Linked DNA regions of Homo sapiens: region 1 is linked to region 2. Evidence: promoter capture Hi-C in human tissues and cell types (Jung and others, 2019). All regions are on one chromosome and are shown on one strand. The core of a region is centred on a gene start or on the middle of the fragment in contact, and the rest is flanking DNA. Distances in the headings are between cores, read along the strand shown. Region 1 holds the start of NPLOC4 (NPL4 homolog, ubiquitin recognition factor). Region 2 holds the start of ALYREF (Aly/REF export factor).

Region 1 (3,302 bases), core at 603-3,102, 250 kb after region 2:
CTACCTGGGGACAAGACTGCCTTTTCAGGACTAACAAATTAGCCATAAGATTAGAAATTATGGTTTAGGAGTCATGTAGCTGGAGGCTACAAGATTCTAAACCTCCCAAATTGCTTCTCAGGATAACATCACTATTAAAAAACAGATCAGCGCTTGAGATATTTTGCAGACTCTGCACTCCATGGATCAGCTGGCACCACCCAGATTGATAAACTGGCTCATATCTTGTGGCCCCCACCCAGGAACCGACTCAGCACAAGAGGACAGTTTTGACTCCCTATCATTTCACCTCTGACCCAACCAATCAACACTCCCTACTTTCTGACCCCATACCCACCAAATTATCCTTAAAACCGCGGATCCCCAGCCGGGCACGGTGGCTCACGTCTATAGTCCCAGCACTTTGGGGAGGCCCAGGTGGGCGGATCACCTGAGGTCAGGAGTTCAAGACCAGCCTGACCAACATGGAGAAACTCCGTCTCTACGAAAAATACAAAATTAGCCAGGCATGGTAGTGTGCGCCTGTAGTCCCAGCTACCCGGGAGGCTGAGGCAGGAGAATCACTGGAACCCAGGAGGTGAAGGTTGCAGTGAGCCGAGATCGCGCCACTGCACTCCAGTGTGGGTGACAGAGTGAGATTCGGACTCAAAAACAAAAAAAAACAAAAAACAAAAAACTCTGATCCCTGAATTCTCAAGGACACTAATTTTTTTTGAGTAGTAATAAAACCTCAGTAACCTGTACAAGCTGGCTCTGTGTGAATTAAACTCTTTATTGCAATTCCCCTGTCTTGATAAAGTCTAGGCAGTGGGCAGGGACAATATGTTGGGTAGTTACAGTGGCACCCTGAGCAAACTAATACAATTACTAACATAATTTAATCAATTAATGTAATTTAACATAGTTTAAAAAAACTGTCACAGTAATTGTGATGTTGTGAAATATGTATACATTTAGTCTTCCGGTTTCCTGGTATCCAACTCCAAAAATCCTTAGAATCTGTGAAGTGACGTCTTTTTTTTTTTTTTTTGAGATGAAGTCTCACTCTGTCGCCCAGACTGGAGTGCAGTGGCACCAACTCAGTTCATTCTAACCTCCGCCTCTTCGCTTCAAGAGATTCTCCGGCCTCAGACTCCCGAGTAGCTGGGATTACAGGTGCCCGCCACCACGCCCAGTTAATTTTTGTATTTTTAGTAGAGACGGGGTTTCACCACGTTGGTCAGGCTGGTCTTGAACTCCTGACCTCAGGTGATCCACCTGCCTCGGCCTCCCAAAGTGCTGGGATTACAGGCGTGAGCCACCGCGTATGGCCTAATTTTGTATTTTGAGTAGAGACGGGGTTTCACCATTTTGGCCAGGCTGGTCTCGAACTTTTGACCTCAGGTGATCCGTCCACCTTGGCTTCCCAAAATGCTGGGATTACAGGTATGAGCCACCGCGCCCGGCCTGAAATGCAGTTTAAACTCGTTTGTTTTTCTTATGTTAAATTTAAAAAATACTTAAAAAAAAAAACATGAAGGTGTGATCCTGCCTTCCTGAAATTGTTTCTCTACTTACCTGTGCATGGAGAGAAGTTTGGAATGCTGTTTCCCCAATTATAATACGCTATAATACGCAGCAGTAGTTATTTTTGGGTGAGACTTCGGATGCTCGTCTTTGCTTCCTTTTTGGACTTTCCTGTGCCGCTTGGGTTTCCGAGGACGAGCAGAAGTAATCTCAGACGCAACTTTCCAAAATCCCCTCCTCCAGTTGCAGGGATGGCGGGGGCGGGTCAGCGGCGCCGCCCTGCGCATGCGTCGAGCCGTTGGTGGGGCCGGAACCTGGTTTCCCGGCCTCGCGCCCGAGGGGAGCGTATTGAGCGAGGCACCGGGACGTCGGCGGCTGGCGGAGCCGGGCGGGCGAAGCTGGAGCGGCGGTGGCGGCGGCGTAGGGAGGCCGGGGCCGGGGCTGAGGCCGCGGCCGGGTCTGCGAGGCCCTTGGGGCGGCAGGCGGCGGCGGCCCGGGGCTCGAGCCCGGAGGCAGGAGCAGCCGCCATGGCCGAGAGCATCGTGAGTGCGGCGGCCGGGCGGGAGCGGGGACGCCGGGATGAGGCAGCAGATTTGCCGGCCTCGGCCTGTGGGGGAGGCGGGCCTGCCGGCGCCGCGACTCGGCCCCTTTCTCTTCTCTCGCCAGGGCTTTCTCTGTAGTGGCTGGGCCCCTCTCGGGGACTTTCACCCCCCTCGGCTGCTTCCCGTCCGTGTCCCTCCCCAGGGGACTTACGACCCCGGTTCCCCGCCCTGGGCAGGGAAAGGCCGAGCCTTTCTAAGCAGGGAGAATGGACTGTGGCGAAGAGAAACCGCCCTCCTTCCCCACCCGTTTCCCGGCTCCAGGAGACTTCCTGGTCTAATTCCAGGGACTCCCAGCCAGTCCTGCCCCTCTCAGAGCCAGGGACACCTCTTATCCTAATCTCCCTCTGATTCTCTCCTCCTGCTCTCCCGCTTCCCAGCAAGTGCCTTGTCATGAGTCACTAAGGAGAGCAGCTCTGCAGACGGGGACGTTACAGAGCTCCCTCCCCACCAGAAGACCTGGGAAAATGAAAACACAGTAACTTGCCGGCTTTGCTCCTTACTTGGAAGGACAACTTGACAATTCCTCTTTAAAAGGAATGTTGTAAATGATGTTGATTTCACTTTTTACCTGAAATTGAAATTGTCGGCCCGGCGCAGTGGCTCACGCCTGTGATGTCAGCACTTTGGGAGGCCGAGGCGGGTGGATCACCTGGGGTCAGGAGTTCGAGACCATCCTGGCCAACATGGCAAAATCTTGTCTCTACTAAAAATACAAAAAATTAGCCGGGCGTCATGGCGCACTGTAATCCCAGATACTTGGGAGGCTGAGGCAGGAGAATTGCTTGAACGCGGGAGGTGGAGGTTACAGTGAGCTGAGATCCCTCCATGGCACTCCAGCCTGGGCTATAGAGCGAGACTGCGTCTCAAAAAAAAAAAAAAAATTGTCACACACTCCTCCTTAACGTAAAAAATATCAGTGACAAATCAGAAAACCAGTCCCTCGTTAAGTTGTGAGAAGTTTCTTCCCAAAAGTAAATGTGATGGGAAAAAAACTAACTGACCATTGGACAGGAGCATTTTGGTTAATATTAAGGAAGATTTGGGATTTCTGGGGGAAGCTTAGCAGTATTGGGTGAAGAGTAATGTTCATACTGTAGCATTGTGACAGTCTCTGCAGTTTTGCCAGGTGTTGTCTAGAATAGGTCTCCAGGCCCGGCGCGGTGACTCACACCTGTAATCCCAGCACTTTGGGAA
Region 2 (2,946 bases), core at 198-2,697:
TCTCAAAAAAAAAAAAAAAAGCCAGCTGTGGTGGCGTGCACCAGCTGCCTGAGAGGCTGACGTGGGAGGATAGCTCGAGCCCAGGAGTTTGAGGCTGCAGTGAGCCAAGATCACACCACTGCACTCCACTCTGGGTGACGGAGGGAGACCCTGACTCAAAAAACAAAAACAAAAGCAAGTATCTCAAAACAACTTAAAATCCATGAAATGGGCTGGGTGTGGTGGCTCATGCCTGTAATCCCAGCACTTTGGGAGGCCAAGGCGGGCGGATCATCTGAGGTCAGGAGTTCAAGACCACCCTGGCCAACATGGCGAAACCCTGTCTCTATTAAAAATACAAACATTAGCCAGGTATGGTGGCACGTGCCTGTAGTCCCAGCTACTCGGGAGGCTGCCGCTGGAGACTCGCTTGAACCCAGGAGGCAGAGGTTGCAGTGAGCCGAGATCGCCCCACTGCACTCCAGCCTGGGCGACAGAATGAGACTGCCTCAAAAAAAAAAAAAAAAAATCAATGAAATGGCACACTGGTTTTCATTAATAAGTTGCAAAAATAATTTTTTTTTGGAGACAGGGTCTGGCTCTGTCGCCCAGGCTGGAGTGCAGTGGTGCCACCACGGCTCACTGCAGCCTCGACCTCCTGGGCTCAAGCAATCCTCCCACCTCGGCCTCCCAAGTAGCTGGTAGTACAGAAGTGCACCACCATGCCCAGCTCATTTTTTTTTTTAGAGATGGGGGTCTCACGATGTTGCCCCGGCTGGTCTCAAACTCCTGGGCTGAAGCGAACCTCTTGCCTCGGCCTCCCAAAGTGCTGGGATTACAGGCGTGAGGCCCGCGCCCGGCCCGCAAGAAAACTTGTAAAGGATATGACTGGCAAAATGTGACAGTGCAGACTTGGGGGGGCTGCAGGTGGAGACCAAAAAACCAACCCGCAGCTCGTCTGCAGCGGCTGCCGCCCGCCGAAGCCGCGCCCGCCGGACCCCACCGCGAGCCGAGCGCACAGTCCTGGGCGGGAGCGGAAACAAGGACTCCCAGCAGCTCCCAGGCACCCGCCGCGCCCGTAGCGCCCCCAGCGCCCCCAGCCCTGGCCGATCGGGCGGAGCGTGCGGGGAGGGAGGGGCGCGTAGGCTCCGCCTCCAACGGCCGCCGCCCCACCCCCTGCGCCCTCGCACCTTCGCCAACCTAATCACGCACCGCCCTACCCGCCCTTCCGTTGGCAGCGCCGGCGTCCGCGCGGGAAGGTATAAAAACGACCACAGTCGCGGCCCGACTCCCTCAACAGCGCCCGCCGAGTCTCGCACGCCAGTGCGCACGCGCCTCCCCGCCTCACCCCGTCCCGCGCGCGCAGCCGTCCGCCAGCGGCCAATCAGCAGCCGCTCCGAGGCCGTGGCACCGGAAGGCCTCACGCGGCGCCGGAAGTGACGTGCCGGCGTGCTGACGCGCGGGCTCGAGCCGATGCCCGATTCCGCGCCCGCCATGGCCGACAAAATGGACATGTCTCTGGACGACATCATTAAACTGAACCGGAGCCAGCGAGGCGGCCGGGGCGGGGGCCGGGGCCGCGGCCGGGCCGGCTCCCAGGGCGGCCGCGGCGGTGGGGCGCAGGCCGCCGCGCGAGTGAATCGAGGCGGCGGGCCCATCCGGAACCGGCCGGCCATCGCCCGCGGCGCGGCCGGCGGAGGCGGCAGGAACCGACCGGCGCCCTACAGCAGGGTGAGTGCGGAGGCCGGCCGCGCCGGAGAGTGGGAGGGGGCCAGCCGGGGCTGGGGCCGGGGCCGCTCGCGGCGGAGACCCGGGCCGGCGGGTGGATAAGGCTGGTGGAGCGGCCGCCCGGAGGTCCGGAGGGTGCGTGTGGGCGCGGAGGGGGTGGTGGGCGGGAGCGAGGTCGTTCTTTCGGGGTCCGGTCCCGGAGGCTGAGACCCTTCCCAGCTCTTTGTTTGTTCCGGACGTTGGGGCCTCGTGGCAGGAGAGGAGGGGACGCTGGGCGCGGCACAGGCGGCGGGAAGTTAGTCTAAGGGAACTGAAGTTGTGCGGCCGCGGTGGGACCGTGCGGCCTCGGGCTGGGGCAGCTGCAGCGCCGGAGGGAGCGCTGGCGGCCCCGTTTCGGCCGGATCCTCTCAGGCCGGGAAGAGGAAGGGTCCGGAGTAGCCGTGAGGGTCAGGAAAGCCCTGGACTGAGACTCACAGATCTGCTCTTGTTGCGGTTTTTTTTTCAGCCAAAACAACTTCCCGACAAGTGGCAGCACGATCTTTTCGACAGTGGCTTCGGCGGTGGTGCCGGCGTGGAGACAGGTGGGAAACTGCTGGTGTCCAATCTGGATTTTGGAGTCTCAGACGCCGATATTCAGGTAAGAGACGAGGGCTTCTCGGTGAGCCGTTCGCCCTGCACAGGACGGATCGTGATTTTGGGGATGTGGCCCTGAGTCCCCTTCCCGCCTTAGCGAAGGGAGCCCTCCCAGCTCTGAAGGGCTGCAGGACAGACCCAGTGCTAGTAAAGCCGGGGTCAGTGCGCAGGCAGGTGCGAGCCTAGCTGAGCCTGAGGAACTGCTGCTGTTAGTCTGAAGATGGGTTCTGTGAGTGAAAATCCCCTGCCAGGGCTTCCAGTTTCTAACAGGGACAAAGACTGACCAAATGTGAGTGGTTTTTGGCTGTTAGACCCAGCCCAGTTGCTTTTTAAATTTTGTGCCTGTCTTAGTGGGTTAATGTGAGAAAAAGAATCTTCTTTATGTATCTTGTGAAGCACAGGGAGTCTGTTTTTCTGGCTCTGTTTGCCTTGAGTACTGTCTTATAAAGACCTTGTACGCTGTGGTTTTATCACTCCCCACCGCCGTGTCCCGTCAGTGACATGACTCTCAAATCCATCTTTGGTTGAAGCTTTTCTTTTTTAAAAAAAGAAAAATTGAATCCCAATGGCATTTCAACTTGTTTTCTGGTTAAGAAATGACTTTTT

The links. Contacts are between HindIII fragments. The study calls those that stand out against the background at their distance.
Region 1: the fragment with the promoter of NPLOC4 here is called in contact with the fragment with the promoter of ALYREF in region 2 in 4 of the 25 tissues and cell types used here (adrenal gland, dorsolateral prefrontal cortex, lymphoblastoid cells and 1 more).

Annotation. Positions count from the first base shown.
Region 1 is chr17:81,635,662-81,638,963 of GRCh38, reverse strand. NPLOC4 (NPL4 homolog, ubiquitin recognition factor) reads left to right here and starts at 1,852. Exons shown (of 17, transcript NM_017921.4): 1 at 1,852-2,048. The coding sequence starts at 2,034. It overlaps TSPAN10 (tetraspanin 10), which reads right to left and starts at 1,768. Exons shown (of 4, transcript NM_001290212.2): 1 at 1,558-1,768. RefSeq lists a silencer at 1,913-2,122. The HindIII fragment of the contact is 41,196 bases long and covers 1-3,302 here.
Region 2 is chr17:81,890,087-81,893,032 of GRCh38, reverse strand. ALYREF (Aly/REF export factor) reads left to right here and starts at 1,447. Exons shown (of 6, transcript NM_005782.4): 1 at 1,447-1,710; 2 at 2,213-2,344. The coding sequence starts at 1,453. ANAPC11 (anaphase promoting complex subunit 11) reads right to left here and starts at 1,310. Exons shown (of 4, transcript NM_001002248.3): 1 at 1,192-1,310. RefSeq lists silencers at 1-10, 891-1,430. The HindIII fragment of the contact is 25,438 bases long and covers 1-2,946 here.